3 separate regions of the Homo sapiens genome follow, and all the other regions are linked to region 3. Evidence: promoter capture Hi-C in human tissues and cell types (Jung and others, 2019). All regions are on one chromosome and are shown on one strand. The core of a region is centred on a gene start or on the middle of the fragment in contact, and the rest is flanking DNA. Distances in the headings are between cores, read along the strand shown. Region 1 overlaps ANKDD1A (ankyrin repeat and death domain containing 1A). Region 2 overlaps ZNF609 (zinc finger protein 609). Region 3 holds the start of OAZ2 (ornithine decarboxylase antizyme 2).

Region 1 (2,775 bases), core at 222-2,721, 220 kb before region 3:
CTCTGGACTCTCAAAGCCTCCCTAGCATTCTAGAGTACACGTGGAGTGACCTGTGTTGTCATTGACTCTAAGAGGTCTATCCCCCTTATCAGGCATTGAAAAACTTACCGTGCCCCACTCCCAGATGAAACTGAAAATGAAAACACTCCCATTGTGAAAACACAAAACTTAACAGGGGTATGCAATTTTAAAAGCTTCTTTGCAGAATTTCTGATTGCAAGATTCTGGAGAAGTTCATCAAAGCTGTATTTTATCTTTCACTGTTCTTGGTGCTCATGCTCTCCTGGGGCCCTGAGGTGTGATCATTTTGCCTCTTGGGTTTGCCAGTCCTGGCAGGCACTGCCCTCCCCGCTCTTTGCATGCCTAGTTCCTGGCCCAGTGCCTTGCACAGGGTAGGACCTGCTCAGCCCAAAAGGATGAGTGTGGATGGACTCAGTGCAGAACCCAAGGGGGTCCAACCCAGGAGGCAGCCTGGTAAGGGGAGAAAGACAGCTTTATGCATTAGGATGCTGCTTCCAAATCCAGCTCTACCTGTGTCTCACTGTGTGGCCCTGGCTAAGGCATGTCCCTCTCTGGGCATCAGTTTCCACAGCTGTAAAATGAGAAGGCTGAATTCAGATGCCTTCCAGTTCCAAGACCCTGCAGTGCATTTGTGTGTGAGCTCTCTATCACTTCATTTTACACAGAACTCCCTCTATCCTGGCCAAGCACATTAACCAGAAGATTAATAATGGAGTTAATCTCTTTGTTGGAGGCATCATTTAGAATTTGCTGTAACAGGCCGGGCGCGATGGCTTACGCGTGTAATCCCAGCACTTTGGGAGGCTGAGGCGGGTGGATCACGAGGTCAGGAGATCAAGATCATCCTGGCTAACACGTGAAACCCCATCTCTACTAAAAATACAAAAAAAATTAGCTGGGTGTGGTGGCGGGCGCCTACAGTCCCAGCTATTCGGGAGGCTGAGGCAGGAGAATGGTGTGAACCCGGGAGGCGGAGCTTGCAGTGAGCCAAGACAGCGCCACTGCACTCCAGCCTGGACGACAGAGCGAGACTCCGTCTCAAAAAAAAAAAAAAAAAAAAGGGAATTTGCTGTAACATATTTTGCCTAATGATTCACAAGGGTCCAATGATAAGAGTCATTTGCAGGGTAGACCCTCTGGTCCCCGTCCCTTACCCCTTCTCAGATTGGTGAAATCCTGCTCACAAGCCCTGAATGATATGCTACCTTCTCCATGCTCCCAACCTATTCCTGCCATAACCATAGCAGAGCAGATGTGTGGCTACCACCCCCTAACACTTCCCCACATCTGTCAACAACAGACAACCCCAGTAGATCACAGCCCTGCTCAACCCACTCCAGGCAGCACTACCAACCACCCAGATCTGCCACCCTGGCCAGCCACGTCGGATCAGAAATCCTTACTATGCCTGTGGCACTGAGTTCCTCGAGTAAGAAACGGTGTCTTGGGCATCTTTATGCCACCAACCTGTAGCACAGGGCTGGCCCATAGCACACGCTGGTGAAGGGCCTGCTGGATGAACACTAAATACACTCTCATCTTTGGGCCACACGGGCCTCCAGCGCAATCGGAGTCAGACGTGGACACAGGTGAGGAGCCAGAGCCTGGAAGGTGGCAAGTTTTGCACCCTGGTCAGGATCCCAGAGCCTCACGGACACGGTACCTTGTCTTTGACATTGTGGTCACAGCCAGAGCCCACGAGGAAGTCCAGAGCATCCAGCTGCCCGTGCTCAGCTGCCCTGTGAAACGCCGTCCTCCCCAGCTGGCCGGGAGGAGAAGCGGTGTGAGCCTTCCTCACTCTGTCAGTGGGCATACCTGCCTCTGCCCACCTGGCCTCTGTTCCCCAACCACTCTGGCTTTGTAGTGGCCTCTCCTGCCCCAGACACTGTCCTCTCCCCTTGCCTCCCCACACCCTGCCTGGAAAGCCCAGACCCAACTTCCCAACAAGAGACACTTGCTGGGGTCCCTCCCTGGCTGAAGTCCTGAGGTGGCTCCTTGCTGCCTAATGAATAAACAGATTCTTGAGGATGGGGGTTGAGATCGCCAGAGGGACCCCCAACCACCCATCAGACCTTCCCTCCTAAGATTCCAGTCCCTCAGAACTCACACTAGAGCCCTTTCCTGTCCCTAAAGCTCCCACAAGCCTCGCTCTTCCATTTGGTGCCCTCTCCAACCCCTGATTTCCAATCTTACCCACAAATCCAGTTTATTTACCAAATGCCACCTCCTCCAGGAAGCAGAAGCAATGGCTTGCTTTTCTAACCCACCTAGTCCTTGATCAAGACCTCTCTGTGGCAACTGACTGTGTTCTGCTTGTATTCTGCTCATTTGCGCCTCAACACCTCTTCCCAACCAGCGGCTCCCCAGGCCAGGTGCAATATGCCCACAGATCAAAGGATGCACCCAAGGAATGTGGTAAGCCCAGTGTGCAAGAGTGGCCCCAGGAGCCCCCCGCCCAATGGGAATGATGAGTAGCCCTGAGGCACTCTCACCTTGTCTACGTGGTCCAGGGCCACATCCTCCAGGTCCTCCATTATGAACGCCAGCACAGGCACATGGCCTTTTTGGGCTGCGCAGTGCAGTAAGGTCAGGCCATCCTGGAAACAAGTGCAGGAGGGTTCCTGCAGTCTGTGAAGGGAGGCCCTTTTCACACACTGCCAGTCTCCCAAACAGCGAGTGTTTGGGACCCAGAACACAGCCTCCCCATGGATACAACACTGTAAATGATGAATGGACCCGAGGGATAACCCACTC
Region 2 (2,909 bases), core at 199-2,698, 200 kb after region 3:
GCAGATAAGAAAACTGAGGAAGAACAATTAAGAAACTTGGTCAAGATCACTCAGTAAATAAGTGCAAAGGTAGGAAACAAAGCCAGGTAGTCTGGCTCCAGAGTTCACACTTTTTAAAAAATTTATTATTATTATTTTTTTGAGACGGAGTCTCACTCTGTTGCCCAGGCTGGAGTGCACTAGTGCGATCACAGCTCACTACTGCAGCCTCAACCTCCCAGGCTCAAGCCAGGAGGCCTGGCTAGAGTTTACGCTTTTAGCCACTAAATTATACATAAGAGTTGATGTGAAATTCAAGTTTAGAAGGCTGGTGTTTTAAATGAGAAGTGGCCCCGAATACTTACCTTGAAAGGAAAATTCTCAAACTTTGATGTATATAGCAATTATCTGGAGAGACTTCTGGAAGTACAGATTTCTGGGCCCTTACCCCAAAAACTTATTCGGCATATCTAGGGTAGGGTCCAAGAATGTGCATTTTTGATACTCTGGTGATGTACATGGTTTTATGGGACACACTTTTAGGAACTCTGCTGTAGACGGTAAACTGTAAGCTCCTCAAAAAGCAGAGACCATCTCTGTTTTATTTACCAGTGTATACCCAATACCAAGTAGAAAACCTAGTATCTAAAATGCATTCAATTAATGTACTGACTGAATGAAAAGTGATAACAATTAGCCAACAGTATATCTTCTCTACAAAATACTTAGTAATATCCACAATACATTTGAAGGTCTGCCTATTAGTGATGTGTCCAAGGAAGAAGCACTAGAACAGGGTTTTTTTTCTTACCTGCAATTGCCAAGTAAAGAAAGAACTATTCCTCAATTATTATAATGAAAATTTGGCTGGATGAAATATTCCAGAACACACACACATATATCATAAGTAGTCAAGCTCAAAGTAGCAGTTTTAAAGTAACTTTCCTTCTTTATAAATAACAGGATAGGTTCAGTGCCAGCTGTAATGGTTATTCTTTGCAAACATCATTCATTACCTTACCTAAAATCCTAAACTCAAAGATCCTTTGTTTATTGAGTGTCTACAATGTTAAAGTCACTGTGAAAAACAAGTGAAAGCAGTTTTGGGGTAAAAGCAATTTTGGAGTATGTAAGCATTTTCATCTAATGTTTCAAGGTAGTCTTTACATTGAAAAAATGGCTGGGTGTGGTGGCACACACTTGTAGTCCCAGCTACTTGCGAGGCCAAGGCAGAAGTGCATAAGTGAGACCAAGGCAGAAGTGCATAAGTGAGGCCAAGGCAGAAGTGCATAAGCCCAGGAGTTCAAGATCAGCATTGGCAACATAGCGAGACCCTGCCTTAAAAATAAGCAAATAGGCTGGGTGTGGTGGCTCATGCCTGTAATCTCAGCACTCTGGGAGGCCGAAGCAGGTGGATCACTTGAAGTCAGGAATTTGAGACCAGCCTGGCCAACATGGTGAACCCCTATCCCTACTAAAATTAAAAAAAAAAAAAAAAAACTAGCCAGGCATGGTGGTATGCACTTGTAATCCCAGCTACTCGGGGAGCTAAGGCAGGAGAATCGCTTGAATCAGAGGCAGAGGCTGCAATGAGCCGAGATCGTGCCACTGCACTCCAGCCTGGGTGACAGAGTGAGTCTCCATCTCGAAAATAATAATACTAAGAAAATAACAAATAAAGTGGGAAAATTGAGAATCCTTCCTGACAGTTAAAGATTTGTTAAGAATCCCAGAGTAACAACATGCCATAAGAATTTGGTGTCTACAAATCTGGCTTTGCCAGTGACTACCTGTGAGATGCTGGGCAAGTCACAGGACTTCACTGGTCTTAGTTTCTTCTATAAAATGAGGAAATTGGACAAGATAATCTTTCTCTGGAACTGCCTTGAATTACAACACCTAGAAGGAAAACAGAGTTTCTGAATGAAAAAATAAATTAAGCTTGTAGTTACAGAATGCAACTCTGTCCCACATAAATATCAACTTCTTTTTAATGTTTTCCATGAAGGAAAATCTTGAGGGCATTTGGTTTCAGGAAGCAAAGCTGACTGCTCTGCCATCAATAGCTGAGAAATAACAGCTAGTGGAAGAAGGCGTTAAGAAAGCCTTGGATCAGAAGGAATAAAAGAGACCTGACCTTGGTTAGGCAATGAGGGACTACAATACAAGAGAACTAAGCTAGAAGGCACAAATTAGGGCAGGAATACAAAACCAATGGCAAAGGAAGATGCTCTTAAGAACACAGGATATGATAGCATGCATGATCAGAAGTTGAAAGAGCAAAGAGCACACTTTATGGTTTTCTTTGTATCCTAAACTAATGGGGGAAGTGGTAAATATATGCAGCATTCTGAAAGCAGCAGAAGCTGACATTCAAACACGGGAAAAGCAAAGTGCAGTGTTCCTACCTTGCAAGATCAAAAGCAGCAGCTAAAGACATGTGAGGGGGAGCTTCTGGTTAGAAACTTCTAGATCCTTTCTTTAACTACTAGAGCCTACTTGGCTATTTTATATGATTTGGGGGAAAAGAAGGAGTCTCACCTTAAACTCCTGGTCGTAAGCCCTGACAAAGTCAGCACAGATAGATCGTTGCCATCTGTGGTTTGTAAATTCCTTTTTTCTTGCCTGTCAGAGTGGCGACATAAGCACTAAGCTCAGGACACTCAGACAGGCGCCTGCCCTCCTCCCTACCTCCCCTTCCATCCCTAACTTAACAATCCATCAATCAAACTAAAGGCAAGGGAACAGGCAAGAGCTGGAAGGCTCTGTCTTGTTTATTCCTCAACATTCCCTCCCCCATCTCTTCAGCTGGCAGGAAGTATGAGGCAGAAGTGTTCAATAACAATTCAGAGCAGCAGCAGTTGCTAAGAGCCATCTCTGGTCTCTCCTAGAACTCTGGGAAACAGCACAGAGCTCACTCTGTCAGAGGA
Region 3 (2,700 bases), core at 80-2,579:
TCTCCCCTTGACCGGATTGTGACATCCAAGGCAGGAACCTTGCCTGGTTGATTATGGCGTATTCTTGGACTCTAGCACATGCCTGGAGCATACAGTAAGTAGCTATTCAATAATTATTTGTTGGCCGGGTGCGGTGGCTCATGCCTGTAATCCCAGTACTTTTGGAGGCCGAGGCAGGTGGATCACCTGAAGTCAGGAGTTCAAGACCAGCTTGGGCAACATGGTGAAACCTCGTCTCTACTAAAAATACAAAAATTAGCCGGGCATGGTGGTACATGTCTGTAATCCCAGCTACTCAGGAGGCTGAGGCAGGAGAATCGCTTGAACCCGGGAGGTGGAGGTTGCAGTGAGCTGAGATTGTGCCACTGCACTCCAGCCTGGGCCACAGAGAGAGACTCCATCTCAAAAATAAGTAAATAAATAAAATAATTATTTGTTGAATAACTGAATGGATGTAATCTGAGGTGACAGAGTGACCCACTGTGATCTGAGATAATGTGACCTCTCTTGATTGCAATCTGGGTTGACTGTGAACAGAGTCGGGGCTTTTGATGATTGTGTTGAAGTGTCTGTGATTGTAACCTACAAGGACTGTGATCTGAGGGGTCTGCGCACCGGTGACTGTGGCCTTCAGGCACTAATCTGTCATAAGGACCAGTAGGGATAATGAATGGAGGTGACTGAACTAGTAACCTTGCATGATCGATTGAAGTAACTTGCACTGATTGTGATCTGAAGTGACCGTGAACAAGTTAGTGACGACGCTTTCCACGACTGTCTTGTTGTGACTGTGCTCATGATCTACAGAGTTCTGGCTTCAGATGACCTAAGCCAGTGCTTGGAGCAGCCTTGACGATTGACATGAGATGTGTGCGAGATGCTGAGATTGTTGATCTACCCTGACAGCTGAGGTTATTGATCTGCATTATGAGCTGAGATAACAGATCTGTGGGCCTGGACTCAGACTAGGAATGGTGCTAATATGTGTGTAGTTCTCTTAAGATTTCTGATTTTGTTTTAATATCCTCCCAAATGGCACAGCCCTGTTCGGCCCCACGCCAACAAGGAATAGGGATGAGGACCAGGTTGAGTCAATCCTCACAGAAAACTACCGGAAACACAACGCATCTTCTGGGCCGCGCTGCCGCAGCTGCGGGCAGACCCACCGCCTTGGTCATGGCCTCCTGCACAGCCTGCCCTTCGTTCGGACCCCCTAGCCCTACCCCCACGATCGGTCCGTGGTGCGCCTGCGCGGAGGCGGGGCGGTGCTTTGCCCTTTGTTGTGGGCCCCAGTTTCCCAGGACACCGCGCGGCGCTGGGGTGGGGCTATGCAGATGAGGCACTCGGGGGCGGGGCGGCGGCGGCGGCGGCGGCGGTGGCGGCCGGGGAGGGTCAGTTGGAGGCAGGCGCTCGCTGAGGCAAAAGGAGGCGCTCGGCCCGCGGCCTGACAGGGACTTAGCCCGCAGAGATCGACCCCGCGCGCGTGACCCCACACCCACCCACTCATCCATCTATCCACTCCCTGCGCCGCCTCCTCCCACCCTGAGCAGAGCCGCCGAGGATGATAAACACCCAGGACAGGTAACGGCCCGGCCCAGGCTCCCCGCCCCCATCCTCCCTCATCTGCTCCAGAGGGCCTCTCACGTACCCCTAGCCGGCCCCCGCCCCCCGCAGCGGGGCCATCCGCCCCCAGCCAGGTCCGTTCACCACTTCAGCCACCCTAGTCCGGTCCTCAGCCCTGCAACTGGGCCTTCTTCTGTCCTTTAGCCCCCTCTTCAGCCGGGCCCATCCCCCTCATCCGGGCCTTCTCCTCCCCTAAAGCCCCCAAAAGCCGGAACCCAACCTTCCAAGCAAGTCCCCTTTTTTCTTTCAGCCCCACCGAATTGTGCCCCATTCCCCAAACTGGGCTTTCCCCGGCATCCAGATTCCCCAAATTGTTTCCTGTCTTCCTCAAATCTTTCTTACTCCCCTTATAAGTCACTTCACCCTTCCCTTTGAATTCCCTCCCTGATGAAAACTGCACCCCCCACCCAGACTCTTCTCATATCACTGCCCCCCGCAAAGTCAACCTCCATCCTTCAGTTCTCAGTTTACCCCCACTCATCACCCTCCCCCCATTCTCTTCAGGCCTAGCAGTCCTTACACAGATGTCCAGCCTCTTCCTCCTGGTCCCATACTTCAGCTTCATCTTTCCCCCACCTTCCCCTCTCCACACCCCTCTCCCAGTTAGGCCCCATTTTCCCAGTCTCCCAGCGCCATTCCTTTTATTTATCAAACACCAGGTTTGATTCTTGTGCTCCATCCTGTTGCCCCAATGGTATACCCCCAACACTCTTGGAAACATTCTTACCCTCTAAACATCTTTTCTCAGCTGGAACTCATCCTTCTCCTTCCCCTCTTAACTGAATCCCGTCTTTGGATCATTAGATCACAGGACCCAGCCATCTCGCTTCCAGTGAACCTTCCCCCTGTACCTCCAGTGCCTTCAAACCAAGCTCTATATTCTGGACACTAGATCTTTGCAATTTCCTCCCTCAAAACCCGACCCTAGTCTTCCCCCATTAATTAGAGAAAGGCTGCACATCTTTCTCAGACCGAGCACCCTGGTTTTCCAAACTTGCATGGTATATCCTTCCCCCTGCAGATAGTTCCTCAATTTTCCTTTCTCTACATGCCTCTCTTTCTCCAAGACAACCCTTC

The links. Contacts are between HindIII fragments. The study calls those that stand out against the background at their distance.
Region 1: a contact is called between a fragment that was not itself captured here and the fragment with the promoter of OAZ2 in region 3, in 2 of the 25 tissues and cell types used here (hippocampus and spleen).
Region 2: a fragment that was not itself captured here is called in contact with the fragment with the promoter of OAZ2 in region 3 in 1 of the 25 tissues and cell types used here (spleen).

Annotation. Positions count from the first base shown.
Region 1 is chr15:64,925,909-64,928,683 of GRCh38, reverse strand. ANKDD1A (ankyrin repeat and death domain containing 1A) reads right to left here. Exons shown (of 15, transcript NM_182703.6): 5 at 2,514-2,618; 6 at 1,685-1,783. Among named protein-coding and RNA genes, the nearest start is that of ANKDD1A, 15 kb to the right of the region's middle. The HindIII fragment of the contact is 6,466 bases long and covers 1-2,775 here.
Region 2 is chr15:64,503,207-64,506,115 of GRCh38, reverse strand. The region is part of intron 2 of ZNF609 (zinc finger protein 609); the gene reads right to left. Among named protein-coding and RNA genes, the nearest start is that of ZNF609, 44 kb to the right of the region's middle. The HindIII fragment of the contact is 8,439 bases long and covers 1-2,909 here.
Region 3 is chr15:64,701,910-64,704,609 of GRCh38, reverse strand. OAZ2 (ornithine decarboxylase antizyme 2) reads left to right here and starts at 1,329. Exons shown (of 5, transcript NM_002537.3): 1 at 1,329-1,581. The coding sequence starts at 1,562. It overlaps LOC124903507 (a long non-coding RNA gene), which reads right to left and starts at 67. Exons shown (of 3, transcript XR_007064679.1): 1 at 1-67. RefSeq lists silencers at 1,194-1,513, 1,524-1,743. The HindIII fragment of the contact is 8,869 bases long and covers 1-2,700 here.